Linked DNA regions of Homo sapiens: regions 2, 3, 4, 5, 6 and 7 are each linked to region 1. The links are contacts of gene promoters, found by promoter capture Hi-C in blood cells and fetal thymus (Javierre and others, 2016). All regions are on one chromosome and are shown on one strand. Each heading gives the region's core, a stretch centred on a gene start or on the middle of the fragment in contact. The rest is flanking DNA. Distances are from core to core; before and after follow the strand shown.

Region 1 (3,118 bases), core at 173-2,672:
TCTCCTGAGTAGCTCGGGCCTGCGCCCCATCCCCCCGCCCCCCCCACACACACACCTGGCGCCCGGGCTCCCTGGTGCTCGCTGGCTGCGGGTCCGGAACGCACCCTTCCCGAGCCGGGTCCTGCGCCACCGGCGGGCGGGCGGGAGTCACTGCGAATATAGGAAGCAGGGGCGATTTCAAATGCTGCTTTATTCTTACAAATACTGTAAAAATTAATATAAAAAAGTGAGCATGCTCAGTCTTTTCCTCTTATCTACAATACAAAGGGTTTGTCTGAAAAGTCTGGTTTTTTTTCTTTTTACAAATGTACCTTAGCTGCATCAACAGGAGTAAGATGTAGAAAAAGCTACCATTACAAAAATAATTTAAGGGAAAATAAACACGTTTAGCTTCTCTCGCAGTTTAGTGGTGGTAAGTCCAGGCTGTAGCTTCTTTGCGCTCCTATGTCCCAAGAAACTGCAGCGGGCACCCGGCGGCTCTGGCTGCGCCAGGGCAGGGCGCGCTCCGCTCCGGGCCGTCGGGTCTGAGGTATGGGTCGTTGCTGAGTCTCTCCCGCCCCGGCCGCGCGTTACCGGCAGTCTGCTGTCCCGGCGGCCGGCAGGAAGGGCGGGCTGGGCAGCTGCTTGAAGAACTGCCGGAGGCCGGCCAGGTCCCGCGTGAGCTGCTCCACGCGCTGGTGCAGCTTCTCGTTCTCAGCCGACAGCTCCACCAACTTCTGCTGCATCTCCTGGTTGCGCCGCTTGGCCTTGTCGCGGCTCTTGCGCACGGCGATGTTGTTGCGCTCGCGCCGCTGCCGGTACTCGGGGCTGCCGCGGTCCGGGCCCCTCTTGCCGGCGCTCTTCTCCCGGGCGGGGCCGGGCGCGGGGGTCTGCCTGGGGCTGCTGCGCGGCGGCTCCGGCGACGTGGGCGGGGTGGGCTGCCCTGCGGCCGCCAAGCTCACCACGGTCTGTGCGCACGCGGCCACCTGCGCGGGCAACAGCGAGCCGGGCGCGTCGCCGTCGCCCCAGTCGGGCTCGCGCTTGAGCAGGCGGGGAGCGGCAGGGCCCGGGCCCAAGGGGCGCGCGGGGCCGCCGGGAAGAAGCTCCAGGGGCCCCGCGCCGCCCGCCTTGTGATTGCTGTTGAAGAGGTCGGCGAAGAGCTCGTCGTGGCACAGCTCCAGGGTGGGCACGGCGGCCATGGAGTCGATGTAGGCGCTGAAGTCGATGGCGCTCTCGTCGTCGTACATGGCGGGGGCGGCGGCGCCTGGCTCGCCTAGGGCCCCTGGCTCGGCCCCGCGGCCCGGCTTGCCCGCCCGGCCCGGTTCGTAGAAGGGCGCAGGCTCCGCAGGCCAGGGCGCGCCGCGCGCCGGGCCGTCCAGGCTGAAGAGCGCGGCGCTCATGGCGGCGTCGGGCCGGGCTCTGCGTCCAAGCGAGGCTGTCACCTCGCTGGGCCCAGCCCCGCCGCCTTTTCTAGCCCCGGCTGACGTGCACGCCCCGCCCCGACTCCGGCACCGCGGGGGCGCCCCGGGGCCGCGGGGGAAGGGGCGGGGGCGCCCTGGGAGCCCCCCGGAGCCGCCCCGAGCCTTCCCGGGGCGCGCCCCCTCTCAGTTCCTCCCCGGGGCCCCCTCCCCGGCCCTGGGGACCCCCAGCCCACGTTGCAGGAGGGTGCCCGCGCTGCTGCTCCCTCCCCGGCCCGGGCCGGCCTGCGCTGCGCTGCTGGGAATGACACTCCCTCTGCCAGCACTCCAGGGCCTTCTCTTCTTCCTGTTTGTGGGCTTGGAACCTCCTCGCTCCTCGGGGTTGGGAGTGAAATCAAAACCAGGACTTGGCCGCAGCGCGCGCGTCCCAGGCCGGCTCCTGTCGCCGGAGGGCGGGGGGTGGAGACCCGTGGGAGAGGACCCGCGCGTCCAAGGACGCCCCCCGACCGTGGGCACGCGCGTGAGGCCCTCGCCCCGCGCCTCCACCGTGGGACCAGATGCGGGAAGAGGCGTGGGGGACCAGACGTGGGGACAGCGGCGGCCTGGCAGGCGGGGAGGGCTGCCCGCACCGCACTCGGGCGCCTCGGGGAATCCGGGCCGGTTCTCGCTGCTCTCCTCGGAGGTCCCGGGTCCGGCCGGCCCTGGGGGTCGAGGCCCAGAGACGCGGCTGCTGCGTCCTGGCCGAAAGGCCGACGGGACGCTGTCGCCAAAAGCAGAGCAGATGGGGGAGACGCGGTCACGACACCGCGTCCTCCGCCGGCTCCTCGAGGTGCGGGCTCTCCGGCCGGACGCTACTCCCCGACCCCGCAGACCCGGGCGTCCGCCGCCAGCTCCCGCGCCCGCGTTTCTTCCAGGTCTACGGAAGCAGTGCCATCGTGTGGCGGCATCTTGCGTTAGACCTGTTTTTAGTTCCAGGCTCTTTCCCTGTTAAATATTCCAAAAAAGTGCCTTGAACCTAAAGTAGTTGGGTCCTTTTTGGGAAACAGGTAAGATCTACCAGTAGCTATAGCAGGGTGCAGATGGGCCTCGACTCACGATGGGGTTACATCCCGGTAGACCCATCGCACACTGAAAATGTCTTAAGTAAGAATGGGCTTTGTCATGTGTCCTGCAATTTGAGGCAGGCATTTCTGGTCAGACCCATTTATTATTTTAAATTAAAAATATGGTTTTTTTCAGCCGAGCACAGTGGCTCATGCCGGTAATCCCAGCATTTTGGGAGGCTGAGGTGGGCGGATCACTTGAGGTCAGGAGTTTGAAACCAGCCTGGTCAACATGGTGAAACCCCATTTCTACTAAAAATACAAAAATTAGCCAAGCGTAGTGGCGTGCGCCTGTAATCCCAGCTACTCGGGAGGCTGAGGCAGGAGAATCGCTTGAACCCGGGAGGCGGAGGTTGCAGTGAGCCGAGATCGTTCCATTGCACTCCAGCCTGGGCGACAGAGCGAGACTCCATCTCAAAAAAAAAATTGAGATGGGATCTCACAATATTGTCCAGGCTGGTTTCAAACTCCTGGGCTTAAGAGATTCGCCGGCCTCAGCCTCCCAAAGTGCTGGGATTACAGGCGTGAGCCACCATGTCGGGCCCAAATCCATTAAATCACTATCGCTAGTCACACCTGCTCCATGTCGAGTCTCTTCCTGCGCAGGCCTCTCACCAG
Region 2 (3,381 bases), core at 299-2,798, 360 kb before region 1:
CAGGAATGCCTGTGGGCTGTCATGAGATTATTCGCCTATATTCAACATATAATAAGAAGTTAGAAGAGGCTGGGCTTGGTGGCTCACGCCTGTAATCCTAGCACTTTAGGAGTGGGCGGATGGCTTGAGTCCAGGAGTTTGGGACCAGCCTGGGCAGCATGATGAAACCCCATCTCCACAAAAAATACAAAAATTAGCCAGGTGTGGTGGTGCACACCTGCAGTTCCAGCTACTCGGGAGGCTGTGGTACACCTGGGAGGCGGAGGTTGTAGTGAGCCAAGATAGCATCACTGCCCTCCAGCCTGGGTGAATTGGGTGAAAGAAGAAATCATGGAAAACTTCACTTGCAAGAGCTTTTCATTAAAATGATTAAAATATAAGATTTTAGAGAATTCAGCTCCATGAGGTACAGTGAAACACTGGTTAAATTGTGGCTAAAGGAGTTTAGGAAAGACTACTTACTGCAGACTCCTCGTAGAGGGCACAGTGCACACAAGCATATTCAAGGTTTCTGGGGCCTATGACAAGGCCTGTTTAACTTTATTCACCTGAGTGTATTCAAGCCCATGTGCCTGCGGAGCTCTGTGTCCCCTTGATCCCTGTTGCCTTTGCTCCTTGTGGAGCTTCTGGGTGAGGAGCACCCCCTGGGCCCACAGCTCAGGGCTGTCCACTCACTGGTTACTGCTTTTGCTTTTCTTTATTGCTTTTGTTATCCTAGAACACTCACCTGGCTTGATTCCTCTGAAATTTGCTACCTTCTCAGGACTTCTCTCTCAATTTCTTCCATTTTCCCCACCCATTGTGTAGCATTTTAATTCTTTGCCTTGAATAAAAATAAAGCTTGGCTCATAACCAGAAGCAACCTGTCTTGCCTTGGGTCCAGGGGCATAAGTGAACAGATTTATTTTTAAAACATGCCATCGTGTTTGTTTCTACTAATTTTGAGGCCCAGGTTTTGAGTGTAGGTCTGAGTCGATGACCTCTCAGCCTGCACCACAGCAACGCGTGCTGCCCCTGCCTGGGCCTGGCAGAAGGCTCCCTTGCAGCAGCTCAGGACTCACACTCACTGAGCAGGTTTTAAAACACACAGAATGGCCAGACAGGTCGTATCACAGTTTGTGTCAGAATTCCACAGGTGTACACTATTTTTTTTTGGAGAAGGGGGTACTTTTCATCTGTGATCACTGCAGACAAGGTGCGTCAGGACCTCGGAGGACCGTGTTGCTGGGCGGGGCCTGCTGTTTGCTGTGGAGCCCCCTGGCCCTGGTCACTGCCGCCTTCTCCACCCTCCACTCCTGCTTGGTGAACTTTGACCCGGCAGGTGCCTTTCTTGAGCCTCGTGATTCCCCTCCCCTCTTGCCCCGCTGTCTGTCATTTCTCCTTGGGCTCCTCAGAGCAGGTGCCAGGCTGACGATAGGTGGAGGGGGCTTCTGTAAGCCAGTCCATAGGTTTGAGTTAAGTTCTCTCCTTCTCACTGAGCTGCAGCTGAGGTTGGAAACATGTATCTAGTTTAAGGAAGGCAAGCCAGGTGGTTTTCAGAGGTGTAACTATGGGTGTAGCTTGTTAAACCTGTTTACCTCAGAAAATATTTTTTTCCTTGAATGTATGAGAAAACCTGTAGCTTTTGTTTTGCCTCTCACTAGCTGGCTGATTTTCACGGATAAAGTTTCAGTCACAAAAAGCACACCATGTAAACAGTGAAAGGAGATCTCTTATTGGTGGCTTAAGCCTTTCTATTGTCTGGAATTGGTGTTGCTTTATTGGTTTTAATTCAATAGAAAATAAAATTTTGTTAGCAACTGGGAGTCCAATATACTCTTTATTTTGTGTTGTTTTGCTGTTCTTTTCCACACAACCAGTGAAGTTCTTAACGCGTAAACAGAGAGCATTCTACATGAATTAATGTGTGTATGTGTGCCATGGCTGCACTGGGGTAATAGACCTGTGGATAAAGACTTTGGGTCCCTCCCTCCTTCCCTCCCTCTGTACCCATTGTACCCAGAATGATTCCTGATACACAGGCACTCAGTTAATGTGTTACATGAATAAATTTCATTTTAGAAGTGAGAGTGGAAACGCAGGCATATGATAACCAAATCTATTGACCTGTCAGCCACCAGTACTCTTTCATTCCCCTCAGTGTGAAGAGCAGTCTTGGTTTTGATTATTTTACTTGCCATGGTGTATCTTCTGTAGCATTTTTGTTGTTGCTCTTACCATCCAACCTCCTTAAAACAGTGGTTTGTATGGGATTTAAAAGCTTCTAGGCAGCCAGGGCCTTCTGACTCTTTGTTCTTTCCTTATGGTGCTACTGACTGTGCTCGTTTGTAGTGTGACTTTAAGAAAGGGAGGCTGAACTCAGGATAGGCAGGGTGAACTTGGCATAACACTGCTCTGGGTGTTCTCAGAAGATCCTATTCGGGCAGGTCTGGGCCTGGTCAGTAATTGGGTGGGAGGCCTCAGAGAGCAGAAACCAGCGATTGGCAGGAAGTGGCATGGGCAGCTCACCTGGCCTGCGAGTCTGGGCTCAGCTGGACCTGCCCCACGTGGCACCAGGCGCACAAGGTGTCCTCACAGAGCCGCCCCGTGGCACGCCTTTGCATGTTGGCCAAGACCAAAGACTTGAGACTTTTGTTTTTGCATGAAATATGAGTCAAGTGAAGTTTTATTTCTTATGATTGGTTATCTCAAATAATGATATTAGTTTAGTTACCATCCTCCCTTTGTTCTACCAGCTGGGTAGCATTTAGCTACAAAGGTGTAATTTTAAAATAAGGATGTGATAATTTATTAGTGATATTCCATTATTGCTCTTGGTGTGACCTTTCTATAAATTTTAGAATCAAGAGCTTTAATTTCTGAACATTAAAGAATGGTGTTTCATCTGGCTAATTTGTTTCATACCAAAGAGGCACTGCTTCATCTTGAAATTAGACTTCAATGTCTTCCTGACTTGATAGCAGACACAGGTTTTCATCTAGGAGGACCCTACACGTGTAGACTGTCATACATGGACTTAGATTAAGATTTGATTGATAGGAACTGGGACACTGCAGTTCAAGGGTAGCACTTCAGGTATTCAGGGCAATCACAAGAAGTTTTTCTGAACATTTCATAAAGAAATGTGTAGGTAAGATTACAGGAAGTAACATTAGCTTAAAGAGTAGCAATTGAATTATATAAAGCATTGTGCTAATTAATTTTTAAATTTAAAGTTTTTTCTCTTTTTTTGAGATGGAATCTCGCTCTGTTGCCAGGCTGGAGTACAGTGATGCAATCTTAACTCACTGCAACCTCTGCCTCCTGGGTTCAAACGATTCTCCTGCCTCAGCCTCTGGAGTAGCTGGGACTACAGGAGTGCACCACCACACCCAGCCAATT
Region 3 (3,382 bases), core at 138-2,637, 300 kb before region 1:
AAGTGAGAGGGAGAAAGAAATAGATGATTAAAATCTTAGCACCGTCTAAATATTAATTTTTACTATTCACTATTAACCTAGTTGGCTGAAGTGGTAAAGAAACTCATATTAGTGAGTATCTGTTATTAACAAGGCAGTATGTTGTACCCTTCATTTTTGTTGTTCTCAGTTTATGTATTTTTTTATTTTTTTTAATTAAAAAGCACAGAGAATAATAGAAACACATAAGCATGCTCACTGCCTAGAATTAGTAACACATGTCAATCCTTTGTCTTTTTTTAGTTTCCCATAGTTTTATAATAGAAACAATATGACACATAAATTTGAAACCCTCTGGGTTCCCCTCCTGAGTCATACTCCTCTTTCTCTCTCCTTAGAGACAGTGGCTTTCATGACTTTTCTGTGAATCCTTCTATTTATGTTTTTATACTCATCTTGTATTCATAAACTATTGTATTGATTTCTGTGTTTTTTAAAATTACATTATAGGTGTCATACTCTGTATATCCTGTTTATCCCCTTTCATTTCTTGAGACCTCTCCATCTGATTCTTAGACGTCTACTTCACCTCATTTTAAGTGCCGTACAGTGTTCTGTTGTATGAACACACCATGGTTTACCCATCTTTCTGATTTATGCTGGGTGCAGTTTTCTACTCTTATAAACAACGCTGAGATGTGTATCCTTGTTTAGGTATATTGGTGCATCTGACAGTTTCTGGGTACCTACCTAAGATTTCTGGGGTATAGGCTATGCACACTATCAACTTCAGTTATCTCATTTAATCTGAACAAATGTTTCCTGGGGCAGGTGGCAGGATCTCCATTTTACACATAAGACAATTTAACAGTTGAATGCCATGGAACTTGGCCAACTTAATAAGGAAACCAGCACTTGAATCCAGATCAAATTCCACCCATTTCAATCTAGAGCTCTAATACCCAGCAGTCCACATAACTCTTCAACTGTTAGCCTTTCTGATCATTGGAACAGCTGCAGCCAGCTAGTAACATACATGATTTCAAAGCAGAGAATCAAAACAGATAATAAAGAGGAGGGTCCATCCTTAAGAAGAATCCACAGTGGCCATATTCTCCTTGTGGTCATCAAAGGATTTCAGACTTGGAGTAAAACGCATGCTCCTTAAAATGACGGGTCTAAGGTTTCTATTTGTACAGGACTATTTCTTCATGACAGAAGACTTTATTTTATGCTGCTTAAAATCCATGTATTAAATGCAACATGCAGGCCTATTTTGATTAAAGAAAAGTGTTATAGTGAGCATCGTAGTGTCTCTGTTTTACTTTGCAAAATGTGGAGACCATTTTCTCCAGGTGAAGAGTGCTATCTGCATGTGGATCTTTTTTTCATGACACTTTATTCACGCTTGAACCATCTGTCTTTTGATTTCATTTTTGCTTTGTTCTTTTCTTCAACTTCTAGGTAGAAAATCTGGTGTATTAACTGTGAAAATTTTAGAGCTGCATGAGGAATGTGCCATGCAAGTTGCCATGTGTGAGCAGTTATTGGGGTCACCAGCCACCAGCTCCTCCCAAAGTGTGGCTCCCAGGCCTGGAGCTGGCCTGAAAGTTCTCTTCACCAAGGAGACTGCAGGCTACCTCAGGGGCCGTCCCCAGGACACTGTCCGGATCTTCCCTCCCTGGTGAGTGCGCAGAACTTAATCCAGCAGTCACCAACTGTGAGTCAGCCTCGTAAGAAAAGACATTTTTATCAGTTACATTTTTGTCACTTTATCATAGAGCAATGCGAGAGGAAGAGAGCCAGGATTGGACGTGGGTTTTCTGTCAGAGAAGCACTGGATTGTCTCTGATAGCTCATTTCTAGTTCTGTCAGCATATTTCTGATAATTTGGGGTGAGAGGGTTGAGGAAACAACCATATTAAGACTCTTGCCCAAGTGATGTGTTATAAGATCTGGCTGTTTTTGTTTTTATATTTCTTAGAAAAATAATTTTGTTAACAGGCATTATGTGACAGTAGGATAACACACATTAATTAAATATTTCTTAGTCACTTGGGAGGATAAAAAGCATGAATTAAGATATACTAGTGTTTGAATTGCAGGAGCAAAAATGGTCATTATTGGATCAGAAATTATTTTAAAGGATACTATGTGTGCTGTCTTTTGCAGTGGGATATTGATTTTTACCATGAATAGAAGAAAATCATACTACTTTTGAGGAAAAGTTTGAGCAGCCTTGTTTTAAGAGCTAATTATTAATTTTTTCGTAATTTTTTATAAGTTTTCATTTTGTATGTATGAGGAAGGGCTATAGGATAAATTTTTATAAATATTATTGCTGGATCAGTGCTTCTTTAATTTTAGCAGACTTTGTCAAATGGCACCATTTTACGTTCCCACTGGCAATGCCTGAAGTGCCTTTTTCTTCTCCTTTACAAACCTACTTTGTTGATCTAGACCAAGTTAAAAATTGGAAATATGATGTTTATCATTTTAATTCATATTTCTCTTATATAAAATGGGCTTAGGCATTTTTCTACATGTTTTTAAGAACCACTTGAATTTCATTTTATGTCCATTGATAGCTTTTGACCTTTCTTCTCTTTGGTCACTTTGGTCCTGGTGATTTCTACCATCTTTTTATAAATGATTAAAAAAAAAAGTAGTGCCTTGTCAGTCATATACATTGCAGTTAGTTCGTTCCCCATTTACCATTTGACTTTTTACGTTTTTAGGGGGCAGGGGTTTGTTTTGTTGCTTTGTTTTTGATGAGCAGAACTTTTCTGTTTTTCTGTGGTTGATTTTAGCCATCTTTTATAGCTTCTGGGTTTTGTATCATAGATAGAAAGGTTTTCCTTACTATGAGGTGTAAAAGTTATTCTATGTTTTATTCTAAGACTTTCATCGATTTAAAAATTTTTACATTTAAATCTTTTGACACTCCTGGAATTTATCTTTATGGGTAATATGTGAGGTAGTGAATGCAATTTTATTTTTTTCCAAATGGCCACGAGGAGTCCCAACATTATTTATTGAACATTCTGTTTTTTCTTCATACAATTTTAATGCTGCCTTTATCATGTACTAAATACCTACATATATTTTGGGCTATTTACTCTTTTAATGTAACTGTATTTGCACATGCTAGTATTATACTATTTCAGTTACTATAGTTTTATATGGTGTTTTAATAACTGCTAGGACTACTCACATCTCATTAAGCTTAATTTTTAGAACTTTCCTCCTAATAATTGCTTCCTTTCTTTTTTACTTTAAATATTTGCCTTAAACATTTATTTTCAAGTATGCATTGTAAAAGTTAAAACAATTCAGAAATATATAACTTAGAAAGTGAATCCTCTTACCCTCACCTCTTCAATTAATCACACTCATTCTAGAT
Region 4 (3,028 bases), core at 129-2,628, 280 kb before region 1:
TGTTGGCTGTGGGTTTATTACATTGAGGTACATCCTTGTATGCTGATTTTGCTGAGGATTTTAATCAAAAAGGGATGCCAGATTTTGAGGGATGCCAGCTTTTGTGAAATGCTTTATTTAAACTGTGTCTGTTGAGGTGGTCATGTGATTTTTGTTTTTAATTCTTTTTATGTGGTGTATCACATTTATTGATTTGCATATGTTAAATTGTCCCTGCATCCCTGGTATGAAACACACTTGATCATGGTGGATTGTCTTTTTGATAGTTGGATGCGGTTAGCTAGTATTTTGTTAAGGGTTTTTGCTTCTGTTTTCATCAGGGTTATTGGTCTGTAGTTTTTTTGCATGTCTTATGTGCTTTCCTGGTTTTGTTATTAGGGTGATCCTGGCTTCATAGAATGATTTAGGGAGGATTGCCTCTTTCTCTATCTTGTGTAATAGTGTCAATAGGATTGGTACCAGTTCTTTGAATGTCTGGTAGAATTCAGCTGTGAATCTGTCTGGTCCTGGAAGTTTTTTTTCTTGGTAATTCTTTTATTACCGTTTCAACCTCGCTGCTTTTTATTGGTCTGTTCAGGGTTTCTAATTCTTCCTGATTTAAGCTTCCTGTATCTTTCCAGGAATTTATTCAGCATCCTCTAGGTTTTCTAGTTGATGTGCATAAAGGTGTTTATAGTAGCCTTAGATAATCTTTTGTATTTCTGTGGTGTCAGTCTTGATATCTCCCATTTCTTTTCTAATTGAGCTTATTTGGATCTTCTCTCTCCTTTTCTTGGTTAATCTTGCTAATGATCTGTCAGTTTATCTTTTCAAAGAACCAGCTTTTTGTTTCATTTATCGTTTGTATTTTTTTTGTTTCAATTTCATTTAGTTCTGTTTTGATCTTGGTTATTTCCTTTCTTCTGCTGGTTTGGGTTTGGTTTGTTGTTGTTTCTCTAGTTCCTTGAGGTGTTTCTCTAGTTCCTTAGATTGTCTGTTTGTACTGTTTCAGACTTTTTGTTGTGGGCATTTAAGGCTATGAAGTTTCCTCTTACCACCACCTTTGCCGTCTCCCAGGGCTTTTGATAGGTTGTGTCACTATTATCTTTCAGTTTGAATAATTTTTTAATTTCCATCTTGATTTCACTGTTGACCCAGTAATCATTCAGGAGCAGGTTATTTAATTTCCATGTATTTGCATGGTTTTGAAGGTTCCTTTTGGAGTTGATTTCCATTTTTATTCCACTGTGGTCTGAAAGAGTACTTGATATAATTTCAGTTTTCTTAAATTGATTGTGACTTGTTTTGTGGCCTATCATATGGTCTATCTTGGAGAAAGTTCCATACACTGATGAATAGAATGTATATTCTGTGTTTGTTGGGTAGAATATTTTGTAAATATGTTAAGTCCATTTGTTCCAGGGCATAGTTTAAATCCATTGTTTGTTTGTTGACTTTCTGTCTTGATGACCTGTCTAGTCCTATCAGTGGAGTGTTGAAGTCCTCCACTATTATTTTTGTTGCTGTCTATCTCGTTACTTATGTCTAGTAGTAATTGTTTTATAAATTTAGGAGCTCCAGTGTTAGGTGCATAGAATATTTAGGATTGTGATATTTTCGTTTTGGACAAGGCCTTTTATATTAGGTTGGTGCAAAAGTAATTGTGGTTTTTGCTATTTTTTTCTGTCCTTTTTAACTGCTGTTGCTTTAAAGTTTGTTTTGTCTGTTATAAAAATAGCTACTCCTGCTCAGTTTTGGTGTTCATTTGCGTGGGCTGTCTTTTTACACCCCTTTACCTTAAGTTTATCTGAGTCCTTATGTGTTAGGTAAGTCTCTTGAAAGCAGCAGATACTTCTTATCCATTCTGCTATTCTGTTTCTTTTAAGTGGAGCATTTAAGCCATTTACACTCAACATTAGTATTGAGATGTGAGGTACTGTTTCATTCATCATGCTATTTGTTGGCTGTATACCTTGGTGGCTTTTTTAATTATTATATTTTTGTTTTATAGGTCCTGTGAGACTTATGCTTTAAAGAGGTTCTGCTTTCATGTGTTTCCAGGATTTGTTTCAAGATTTAGACCTCCATTTAGCAGTTCTCATAGTGCTGGCTTGGTAGTGGCGAATTCTCTCAGCATTTGTTTTTCTGATAAAGACTGTATCTTTCCTTCATTTATGAAGCTTAGTTTCACTTGATACAAAGTTCTTGGCTGATAATTGTTTTGTTTAAGGAGGCTGAAGATAGGGCCCCAATCCCTTCTAACTTGTAGGGTGTCTGCTGAGAAATCTGCTGTTAATCTGATCAGTTTTTCTTTTTAGGTTACCTGGTGCTTTTGCCTCACAGCTCTTAAGATTCTTCATTTTGACTTAGATAACCTGATGACAGTATGCCTAGGCAATGATCTTTTGTGATGAATTTCCCAGATGTTCGTTCTTGTATTTGGATGTCTAGATCTCTAGCAAGGCCAGGGAAGTTTTTCTCAATTATTTCCCCAAATATGTTTTACAAATGTTTAGATTTTTCTTCTTCCTCAGGAACACCAGTTATTCTTAGGTTTGGTCATTTAACAGAATCCCAAACTTCTTGGAGGCTTTGTTCTTTGTTTTAGATGGAGTCTCGCTCTGTCACCAGGCTGGAGTGCAGTGGCACAATCTCGGCTCACTCCCGGATTCAAGCGATTCTCCTGCCTCAGCCTCCCAGGTATCTGGGACTACAGGCACCTGCCACCAGGTCCAGCTAATTTTTGTATTTCTAGTAGAGATGGGTTTTCACCATGTTGACCAAGATGGTCTCGATCTCTTGACCTCGTGATCTGCCCACCTTCACCTCCCAAAGTGCTGGGATTATAGGTGTGAGCCACTGCGCCCAGCCTGTTTGTTTTTTAATTATTTTTTCTTTCTCTTTGATGGATTGAGTTAATTCAAAAACCTTGTCTTTGAGCTCTGAGGTTGTTTCTTCTGCTTGTTCAGTTTTATTGCTGAGACTTCCCAGAACATTTTGCATTTCACTGTTTTATTTCCTGAAGTTGTGATTTTTTTTTAATTTATGC
Region 5 (3,266 bases), core at 623-3,122, 310 kb before region 1:
GTGTCAGTCTGCCCCTACTCAGGGGTGCCTCACAGTTGGGCTACTCGGAGGTCAGGGCCCCACTTGAGGAGGCAGTGTGTCCGTTCTCAGATCTCCAGCTGCGTGCTGGGAGAACCACTACTCTCTTCAAAGCTGTCAGACAGGGACTTTTGAGTCAGCAGAGGTTTCTGCTGCCTTTTGTTTGGCTATGTCCTGCCCCCAGAGGTGGAGTCTACAGAGGCAGGCAGGCCTCCTTGAGCTCCAGTGGGCTCCACCCCGTTTGAGCTTCCTGGCTGCTTTGTTTACCTACTCAAGCCTCAGCAATGGCGGGCTCCCCTCCCCCAGCCTCACTGCCCCCTTGCAGTTTGATTTCAGACTGCTGTGCTAGCAATGAGCGAGGCTCTGTGGGCGTAGGACCCTCCGAGCCACGTGCGGGATACAATCTCCTGGTGTGCCATTTGCTAAGACCATTGGAAAAGCGCAGTATTAGGGTGGGAGTGACCCGATTTTCCAGGTGCCATCTGTCACCCCTTTCCTTAGCTAGGAAAGGGAATTCCCTGACCCCTTGTGCTTCCCGGGTGAGGCGATGTCTCGCCCTGCTTCGGCTCACGCTCTTTGTGCTGCAGCCACTGTCCTGCACCCACTGTCTGACCATCCCCAGTGAGGTGAACCCGGTACCTCAGTTGGAAATGCAGAAATCATATGTCTTTTGTGTCGCTCACGCTGGGAGATGTAGACTGGAGCTGTTCCTGTTGGGCCATCTTGGCTCCACCCCTCTGCAGTGAATTCTAATACATCTTTCTAGGCTTAAGAAATTTTTTTTTAACATCTTTGGTATGTGGATGTCAGTTTTTCCTTTGTTCCCTCCTGAGTAGCTGACTTTGCTGGGCTGTTTTATAACTCCTACTTGTAACTTTTAAGAATCAATGTTATCTTCCTTGTTGGTGGCTTCTAGTACATTTCAGTATAAAAGACATATATCTCAAGATTCTTTGTGATACACTGAGAAGGTATTGAGTTTGACTTTAAAAGAACAGCCAAAGGCCGGGTGTGGTGTCTCATGCTTATAATCCCAGCAATTTGGGAAGCCGAAGTGGGTGGATCACAAGGTCAGGAGTTCGAGACCAGCCTGGCCAACATGGTGAAACCCCGTCTCTTCTAAAAATGCAAAAATTGGCATGTTGTGGGCTCCTGTAATCCCAGCTACTCGGGAGGCTGTTACAGGAGAATCGCTTGAACTGGGAGGTGGAAGTTTCAGTGAGCCGAGATTACGCCACCACACTCCAGACTAGGTAACAGAGCGAGACTCTGTCTCAAAAAAAAAAAAAAAATAGAGCAGCAAGAGCCAGGCACAGTGGCTCATGTCTGTAATCCCAGCACTTTGGGAGGCTGAGGCAGGTGATCACTTGAGGCCAGGAGTTTGAGACCAGTCTCACCAATATGGCGAAAAAGTACTAAAAATACAGAAAAACTAGCCAGGTGTGGTGGTTCACGCCTACAATCCCAGCTATTCTGGAAGCTGAGGCATGAGAATCACTTGAACCTGGGAGGCAGAGGTTTTTGTGAGCCGAGATCACGCCACTGCACTGCTATCTGGGCAACAGAGCAAGACCCTGTCTGAAAAAAAAATAAAAATAAAAAAATAAAAGAGCAGCAAAAAGCACAGATGTTGCACCCAAAGGCCTTGCAGAGAATGCAGTTTGATGAAATGGCATGGGGTGGGCAGGGGAGCCCAGATCATGCAGGGCCTGGAGGCCTTGGCTGGGTTTCACTTCCAAGGTAGTGCCTTGGAAACCTGCACTTTAAAATGTAGCTGTGGCATAGAGAATGGACAGCTATAGAGGCAAGGGGAAAATACGTTCTATTTATCTTCACGAATCATTGTATTTTTCTTTTTTTAAAAGAGGAAACAGTTTCCAACATTGCTTTGCTCATTATCTGCATGATGGTGAACAGTGATTACTAAGTGATACTCAAAGCATTTTGCATGTATATTAATCACAATTACCCTTCCAGTTAGGTCCTGCTCTCCTTATTTTAGAGATGAGGACAATGCAGACACAGGAGAATATGGATGGGTACAGCCTTGTGTGCCTGCCAGTGGGTAGCAGAGCCAGATTTACATTGGGCAGCCTAACTTGGTGGCCCATGTTCATAGCCTACTTGTTTTAGGGGCAGGTCTGGGCAGAACTGAGTTCAGGAGATGTGAGTGCAGCAGTGGTTGCACCCTGGCTCCGTTGTTTGATCTCTGTTTAGTAACAGGGTGACAATTTTTTTCACAATATGTTTGATATCATAGTTTTTAAAACTAAAAGTAGTTACAAATGTTCTTTTATTTTTTTGAGTAGGGTCTCCCTCTGTTGCCCAGGCATGAGTACAGTGGCACCATCACAATTCACTGCAGCCTTAACCGCCTGGGCTCAAGGGCTCCTGCTACCTCAACCTCCAGAGTGGCTGGGACTACAGTCACATGCCACCACACCCAGCTGTTTAAAAAAAAATTTCTTTTTTTTCTCTACAGAAATGGAGTCTTCCTATGTTTTCCAGGCTGGTCTCGAACTCTTGGCCTCAAGGGAACCTCCCTTCTCAGTCTCCCAATGAATTGGAATTACAGGCGTTAGCCACCATACCCGGACCCTTAGATGTTCTTAAATGCAAAAAACCTTCTTTGTTATACAGGAAGAGAGTAAAGAAAAAAGAAGAACCAGTGATAACAAAGAAATTGATGGGCTTCAGATAAATTATTTTTCATGATGAAATTTTTTGGGGGAAAGGGAAAGGTCTTGCTCTGTTGTGCAGGCTGGAGTGCAGTGGCGCAGCCTTGGCTCACTGTAACCTCCGCCTCCTGGGTCCAGACAATTTTTGTGCCTTCTGAGTATGCTGGGATTACAGGCGCCTGCCACCACCCCTGGGTAATTTTTGTATTTTTAGTAGAGCCTGCCTCGGCCTCCCAAAGTGCTAGAATTACAGACATTAACCACCTTGCCCAGACTTTAACTGCCTATTCTTAAGCAAGATACTTTATTTTTGAAATTTAAGATCACTTCCGTTAGCTAATTTAAAAAAATGATTCTTATTTAAATTGTATTATAGAGGGTAAGCAACCAAGTAATATTCTCAGTGTTTTTCAATCATCCAGATGAAAATTTTATATATGCTCATATTTCTGTGTTTATTCTTGTTGTGTGAAGTAAATGCTTTACTGGTCACTATATCTGGTGGTGGAGATGGGATAGTGGGAAGTGAGGGTCACAGGTACCAAGCTGGCAGGTCACATTCATTTACTC
Region 6 (3,393 bases), core at 558-3,057, 260 kb before region 1:
AGGGATGTGGGGCGGGGTGCAGTGGCTCACGCCTGTAATTCCAACACTGAGAGACTGAGGCAGGCAGATCACTTGAGGCCAGGAGTTCGAGATCAGCCTGGCCAACATGGTAAAACCCTGTCTCTACTAAAAATACAGAAAATTAGCTGGAGTGGTGGTGGGCGCCTGTAATCCCAGCTACTCAGGAGGCTGAAGCAGGAGAATTGCTTGAACCTGGGAGGCGGAGGCTGCAGTGAGCCGAGATTGCACCAGTGCACTCCAGCCTGGGCAACAGAGTGAGACTCTCTCAAAAAAAAAAAAAAAGAAAGAAAGGAAAGAAAAGAAAGACATGTGGAGCACAATTCTGTCTTACTTTGCTGGAAAGTATCTTATAAGAGAAGGTTTCCCCTGCTCTGACTCCCATAGCAGGTACAACTTCTGTCTCAAGGTCATAAACAGGCTCCTGTGGTGAGCTTAGCAGCACAGCCCACAGCGGAATTCCACTCCCCAAGTAAAGTGGGGCAGTAGGGGGGAATGCAGGGAGAGCTGCACCTGATCCTGTGGCTGAGGTTCTCCTTCAGGTGGTAAAGCAGCCATGAGCAGGGGCTGGGGAGTGGCCTGAAGCCAGCCTGCTCTTTTCAGACCAGGAAGGGAGGGGCTCAGGGCAACTTGTCAGAAAGGAATTTGCTACACATTCTAGTGGAAAGTTCTTGTAGACTAATAGAACTGTAAGTTTGGGGAAGTAAGGCTTATCAGTTTTAGAAAGCAGAATAGCTTGTGCCCAAGAACTGAACAGCAGCTAGGAACACTAACAGTTCAAGTCCATAGTGCTGTGAGAACTACAATAGCTTCTTCAGTGTTTAGCATCCAGTTTCTCTTAGTTTGTGCCTCATGATGTTTTGAGCTTTAAATGAATCACAGTAAAAAGATTTGACCACCAGCCAAAAAAGGTGAATTCATCTCATTTGAGGCTCAGGGTGAAAGAAAAAGTAAAATAATATCTTGGAGAACTTCTTCACCTATTTTACCAGTATTTTCCTGTTTAAAGTCTACCTAATGAAGAAAAATGTATCCATCCACTACTCATGAGAGCCTGCCTAAGTTCGAGACCAGCCTGGCCACAGTTGAATACTGTGCTGGGCACTGAAGATTTAGAGGTGAATATAAAGAAAAGGCAAGATGGATTTAATGTCTAAAGTAGAAGATTAGGAGGAAAGCAATTAAGCAGTTACCTGATTTAAAATGTTACCCTACAGTGTTCATGGAATTGTTTAAAAGCTATATCTTAGATACAAACATGTTTGTCTCTTAATGTGTGGGTTAAGTATTTGATTAGATGAGTATGTCCTAATTGAGTAATCCAGGAGGAAAGGTCCTAAATCCCTGAAAGTAATAGCATGTACTATTTTGTTAAAATGTAAGGTCTGTACTTGAAACTTTCCAGCTCTTAAAAATGAGGAAATTCCAAGCATTCTGCACTAATAGATAGTGTTAGTGGGTAGTTGGTGGATGACGTCAAATGTCAGAATGGTGAACAGCTTCGTTCATATAAACTGAAAGTGTACAATCTGGGATCAAGTGTTCTCGCTGCTCTCAGGGATCGGCGCACAGCCTGTGTGCTCCCATGTGGCCTGACTTGGATTTCAGAGTTTATATGAGGCACAGCTGAGAGTCTGGAAAAGGCACAGCATCTTCTCCTTCCTGTCCAGATGAGCCAAGTGAGCAGGAAGGGTCTCAGCATCTATTCCTGAGGCCCTATGAGAGGTTTCTTCATTCCTTTATAATGATTAAGCCCTACATTGGGAATGGGTTTGATTTGTCATTGTACAAACTTCAGAGGCTTTAATGGTAATTTTATTAACCTTGCTGGACCTTATGGAATGTTGATAAAAGCAACCACTCTTTGTTATGAAAGCAAAAAGAGACATTGAAAAGTTAGTTCAAGATAATTGGCAAAGCCAGCTGCCATGATGAGATTGTTGAATAGTGATGGTGGTAATGGCAGAAAAGGTGAAGGCTCTTTCTTGAAAGACAGCACAGGAATCACCGCTCTAATGCTATCTTTGTGATGTTACTGTTGAATATATGTGAGGTGCTGCTGTCTTCTGACTGACTTCTTGGTCACTATCACAGTGTTATGACTGCTATAAGGTGTAATGGTCTTTTCTCGTCATTACATTCTGTTTAGGTTTTGTATTGTATGAGAGAGATCTGGGGAAAGAGATATATAATTGGACATTTGTATATATAATGTTAAGTGAAAAACTGAGAGTTGTAATGCAGCTCTAAGTTCCAAGATTGATGGTTGGCCAGATGCGTTGGCTCATGCCTGTAATTCCAGCACATTGGGAGGCCGAGGTGGGCAGATCACTTGAGGCCAGGAGTTCGAGACCAGCCTGGCCAACATGGAGAAACTCCGTCTCTACTAAAAAAAGATAGAAAAATTAGCAAGGCAGGGTGGCACATGCCTGTAATCCCAGCTACTCTGGAGTCTGAGGCAGGAGAATCGCCTGAACCTGGGAGGCTCCATCAGGGCACTGCCTGTTTTGCTTACCACTGTATTTCTGGCCACTTCAGTGTTTGTGTTCAATGTGTATTTAATGACTATGGACAGAATGAATACAAAGGAAAAAAAAGAACTTGGAGGTAGGAAAACAATTGTGGGAGACCAGCCCATGTGAGTGACCAAGCTGATTATATGATTGACAAGGTTGACTCTACATAATTGAGTTTTAAAAAAGACTAGAAAGGACCACTTGAAGTCATTGAAGGGAACTCTCTGGAGATAGTGGAGTTCTTAGTCTCTGCCCTTTGTTCTTAAAATATTCAGCTGCATTTTAGGTAAGGTAGTGATCTGCCTTCAATTGCAAATAGTTGATAATATCACTTTTAATGTAGACTAAAGCCAACATTTTTCATGTATTGTTCTATTTGGAGTAAATAACACATTTTGGCATGGTTCTTCATGTCTTAGCATCTGTCAGTTTTCATGTGAGGACTCAGTTTACAGGTTATATACAGCACATGTTGAGCGTGGTCAGTGGGTATTTGTACCTGAAGTACGTACTTCCCTTCTGTTGCTGATATTGTCATGAGCAGTTCCACCCTCAGTGTTTACCTCTATGCTTTGAAATCTTCTCTCAAACGCATATTCATTCCTATTTTTTGTACCCTTTGGGATTCCTCAATCTCATATACATCTTTCCATTTCTGACCTAATCCCAGCACTTTGGGAGGCTGAGCCGAGCATAGTGGGGTGTGCCTATAGTCCCAGCTACTCAGGAGGCTGAGGTGGGAAGATCACCTGAGCCCGGGAGCTGGAGGTTTCAGTGAGCTCAGATGTGCCACTGCATTCCAGCCTGGGCTACAGAGCGAGGCCCTGTCTCAAAAAAAAAAGTCTCATGACTTCGTCTC
Region 7 (3,363 bases), core at 200-2,699, 330 kb before region 1:
CGCATTGCCAAGACAATCCTAAGCCAAAAGAACAAAGCTGGAGGCATCACGCTACCTGACTTCAAACTATACTACAAAGCTACAGTAAGCAAAGCAGCATGGTACTGGTACCAAAACAGAGATACAGACCAATGGAACAAAACAGAGCCTTTGAAAATAATACCACACATCTAAAACCATCTGATCCTTGACAAACCTGACAGAAAGAAGAAATGGGGAAAGGATTCCCTATTTAATAAATGGTGCTGGGAAAACTGGCCAGCCATATGTAGAAAGCTGAAACTGGATCCCTTCCTTACACCTTATACAAAAATTAATTCAAGATGGATTAAAGCATTAAATGTTAAACCTAAATCTTAAAAACCCTAGAAGAAAACCTAGGCAATACCATTCAGGCCATAGGCAAGGGCAAGGACTTTATGTCTAAAACACCAAAAGCAATGGCAACAAAAGCCAAAATTGACAAGTGGGATCTAATTAAACTAAAGAGCTTCTGCACAGCAAAAGAAACTACCATCAGAGTGAACAGGCAACCTACAAAATGGGAGAAAATTTTTGCAGTCTACCCATCTGACAAAGGGCTAATATCCAGAATCTATAAAGAACTTAAACAAATTTACAAGAAAGAATCAAACAACCCAATCAAAAAGTGGGCAAGGGATATGAACAGACAGTTCTCAAGGGAGGACATTTATGCAGCCAATAGACACATGAAAAAATGCTCATCATCACTGGCCATCAGAGAAATGCAAATCAAAACCACAATGAGATACCATGTCACACCAGTTAGAATGGCGATCATTAAAAAGTCAGGAAACAACGGGTGCTGGAGAGGATGTGGAGAGAAATAGGAACACTTTTACACTGTTGGTGGGACTGTAAACTGGTTCAACCATTGTGGAAGACAGTGTGGCGATTCCTCAAGGATCTAGAACTAGAAATACCATTTGACCCAGCAATCCTATTACTGGATATATACCCAAAAGATTATAAATCATGCTGCTATAAAGACACATTGACACGTATGTTTATTGTGGCACTATTCACAATAGCCAAGACTTGGAACCAGCCCAAATGTCCTTCAGTGATAGAGTGGATTAAGAAAATATGGCACATATACTCCATGGAGTGCTATGCAGCTGTAAGAAAGGATGAGTTCATGTCCTTTGTTAGGGACATGGATGAAGCTGGAAACCATCATTCTGAGGAAACTGTCGCAGGGAAGGAGAACCAGACACCGCATGTTCTCACTCATATGTAGGAGTTGAACGGTGAGATCACTTGGACACAGGAAGGGGAACATCACACACCGGGGCCTGTCATGTGGTGGGGGGATGGGGGAGGGATAGCATTAGGAGAAATACCTAATGTAGATGACGAGTTAACGGGTGCAGCACACCAACATGGCACGTGTGTGTGTGTGTGTGTGTGTGTGTGTGTGTATATATGTGTGTGTGTATATATATATGTATATTTAACAAACCTGCACATTGTGCACATGTATTCCAGAACTTAAAGTATAATAAAAATAAACCAAAATTTTAAAATATTGTATTTACAGTCATTTTAATTGTTTATTCTTTACCTGGTTGTATAGCTTATTAAAAATATTTTGACTGTAAATCAGTTGGAATATTTTTGAATCTTTATCCTTCTTTACTTCTCCATATTGTTTTTATAGAAATGTTTACCAATGTCAAATTGATACCAGTCATCTTTTGAGATAGGTTACCAGTCTGTTAATTTTATAGAAAAGATAATTAGGATATCTTAACTTGCTGAGTGAATTCATCATATTTTTATTCCATCGGAGTTTGGCCTTTATAAATAACTTATCTGGCTACGTTCAAAAGAGTTAATTTGGATATAGATGGCAGGGCCTTCCTGAACTTTTGGTATGACTTAATTTTTTTTAACATGAGATATGTTTTTACTAGAAATAGGATTGTTGATTAGAGGACATGGTGTTTCCTAAGCTCAAGTTCTTAAGTTCAAGTGCATGTGACTGGAATTCCCTGCATAACAGGCCCTAATGGCCAAACTCAGGTGAGATGCAGATTTTTTCTGAGGGCTCCAGATACTGCTGTGTGTAGAGAGCGCCTGTGCATGTTTACTGTTGCTTTTACCTTTCATCCTGTAATCTGCACAGTTTTCTTACGAGGTTCTAGGCTTGACTTTAACCAGATAGTTTTTTCAGAGTTCATTTTGCCTTTTTTTTTTTTTTTCTGTAAGGTCACAGCATTGAAAAGCAACATTTGGCAAATAATGTTCTAGATAGTTGGGCAAAGAATACAGCATTTGCTTCTTGTATTTATTGTGCATATCATTTTAAATAATACTGTTTAAGAGGTGCTAGGTATATTATCAAGACTAAGAGTTTGAACTCTGGAACCAGACTGCCTAGGCGTGCATCCAGCTACACCACTCATTAGACATTTCACCTTGGACAGATGTTTAACATCTTGGTGCCTCAGTTTGTCATCTATAAAGTGGAATAATAATAGTACCTACTTCACGGTGTTGTGTAAAGGGGAAGCATAAACGAGTTACTTCATGTAAACAGAATGATATGAAGAAGGGCTTAATAGGAAGTAGAGGTTGACATGTAGAGGTGCTATGGCATATTTCTGAGCATAAGAGGTTTTAACTTTTTTTCTGTTACATGTACTACACGCAAGTATATTCAGAAATAGTAACCTATAGGAAAACATACTAGGTGTCTCTATAGGTATTAATACTAGCAATATTATGTATTTATTAAAATATTTCCATCATAATGGAAAGATCTGTATATAGGCTGCAAGTGAAAAACATAACAAAAACAGTTACACCAATCATGGGCATTTTTTGAAGGTTTACTAAATGCCACGTGCTGCACTAAGTCCATTCTGGTTTTAACAGCTAGTTCCTCATCTGGTTAGTTACGTAATGCTGGAGAAGTTTCTTAACCTCTCTCTAAATTCTGGTTTTATCATCTGTGCAGTGGGTACTGATATCTGTTCTTTCAGTCTCAAAGGGATATTATTTGAATAAAGGTAATGTAGTGAAATGATTAATGAATTGGTAACAAGATAATAAACTTATGAGATAATACATTGATACCCGATATAGCATGTAGCTATAGTGGTAATTAACAACTGATCTTAATTTTTCTTGAAATTATAGTTATGTTAGTAGTTGATAACTTCTCTTTCTCTCTACATATGCATGTATTTATTTACTTATAATTTACATACACCTATATATTTATAAGCATAAATATATCTCAGTAAGTATATGTGTTCATTGATAGGTTAATGCTCTTCTGCAGTGCCTGCATGTCTGTCGTTATAAATTGTCTTTCTGCTATACATGGAAGTTTTC

What was found. The method cuts DNA at HindIII sites, captures the fragments that hold promoters and counts their contacts. A CHiCAGO score of 5 or more calls a contact.
Region 2: a fragment that was not itself captured here is called in contact with the fragment with the promoter of CEBPD in region 1 in 4 of 17 cell types (monocytes, M1 macrophages, M0 macrophages and 1 more); the score reaches 11.8 in monocytes.
Region 3: a fragment that was not itself captured here is called in contact with the fragment with the promoter of CEBPD in region 1 in 5 of 17 cell types (monocytes, neutrophils, M2 macrophages and 2 more); the score reaches 11.9 in monocytes.
Region 4: a contact is called between a fragment that was not itself captured here and the fragment with the promoter of CEBPD in region 1, in 1 of 17 cell types (neutrophils). The highest score is 6.4, in neutrophils.
Region 5: a contact is called between a fragment that was not itself captured here and the fragment with the promoter of CEBPD in region 1, in 3 of 17 cell types (neutrophils, M2 macrophages and M1 macrophages). The highest score is 8.9, in neutrophils.
Region 6: a fragment that was not itself captured here is called in contact with the fragment with the promoter of CEBPD in region 1 in 1 of 17 cell types (monocytes); the score reaches 5.4 in monocytes.
Region 7: a fragment that was not itself captured here is called in contact with the fragment with the promoter of CEBPD in region 1 in 3 of 17 cell types (monocytes, neutrophils and M1 macrophages); the score reaches 11.4 in monocytes.

The regions. Positions count from the first base shown.
Region 1 is chr8:47,736,742-47,739,859 of GRCh38, forward strand. CEBPD (CCAAT enhancer binding protein delta) reads right to left here and starts at 1,423. Exons shown (of 1, transcript NM_005195.4): 1 at 172-1,423. The coding sequence starts at 1,379. The coding sequence ends at 570. RefSeq lists an enhancer at 447-1,385 and silencers at 782-971, 1,462-1,571, 1,612-1,691, 1,782-2,251. The HindIII fragment of the contact is 19,422 bases long and covers 1-3,118 here.
Region 2 is chr8:47,379,201-47,382,581 of GRCh38, forward strand. All of the region lies in intron 5 of SPIDR (scaffold protein involved in DNA repair), which reads left to right. All of the region lies in intron 1 of LOC107986940 (a long non-coding RNA gene), which reads right to left. Among named protein-coding and RNA genes, the nearest start is that of SPIDR, 120 kb to the left of the region's middle. RefSeq lists enhancers at 1,999-2,535, 2,536-3,071. The HindIII fragment of the contact is 1,420 bases long and covers 839-2,258 here.
Region 3 is chr8:47,438,880-47,442,261 of GRCh38, forward strand. SPIDR (scaffold protein involved in DNA repair) reads left to right here. Exons shown (of 20, transcript NM_001080394.4): 8 at 1,444-1,663. Among named protein-coding and RNA genes, the nearest start is that of SPIDR, 180 kb to the left of the region's middle. The HindIII fragment of the contact is 3,630 bases long and covers 1-3,202 here.
Region 4 is chr8:47,458,760-47,461,787 of GRCh38, forward strand. All of the region lies in intron 8 of SPIDR (scaffold protein involved in DNA repair), which reads left to right. Among named protein-coding and RNA genes, the nearest start is that of SPIDR, 200 kb to the left of the region's middle. The HindIII fragment of the contact is 1,557 bases long and covers 601-2,157 here.
Region 5 is chr8:47,422,003-47,425,268 of GRCh38, forward strand. All of the region lies in intron 7 of SPIDR (scaffold protein involved in DNA repair), which reads left to right. Among named protein-coding and RNA genes, the nearest start is that of SPIDR, 160 kb to the left of the region's middle. The HindIII fragment of the contact is 6,012 bases long and covers 1-3,266 here.
Region 6 is chr8:47,479,069-47,482,461 of GRCh38, forward strand. All of the region lies in intron 8 of SPIDR (scaffold protein involved in DNA repair), which reads left to right. Among named protein-coding and RNA genes, the nearest start is that of SPIDR, 220 kb to the left of the region's middle. The HindIII fragment of the contact is 9,555 bases long and covers 1-3,393 here.
Region 7 is chr8:47,403,882-47,407,244 of GRCh38, forward strand. The region is part of intron 6 of SPIDR (scaffold protein involved in DNA repair); the gene reads left to right. Among named protein-coding and RNA genes, the nearest start is that of SPIDR, 140 kb to the left of the region's middle. The HindIII fragment of the contact is 4,676 bases long and covers 1-3,363 here.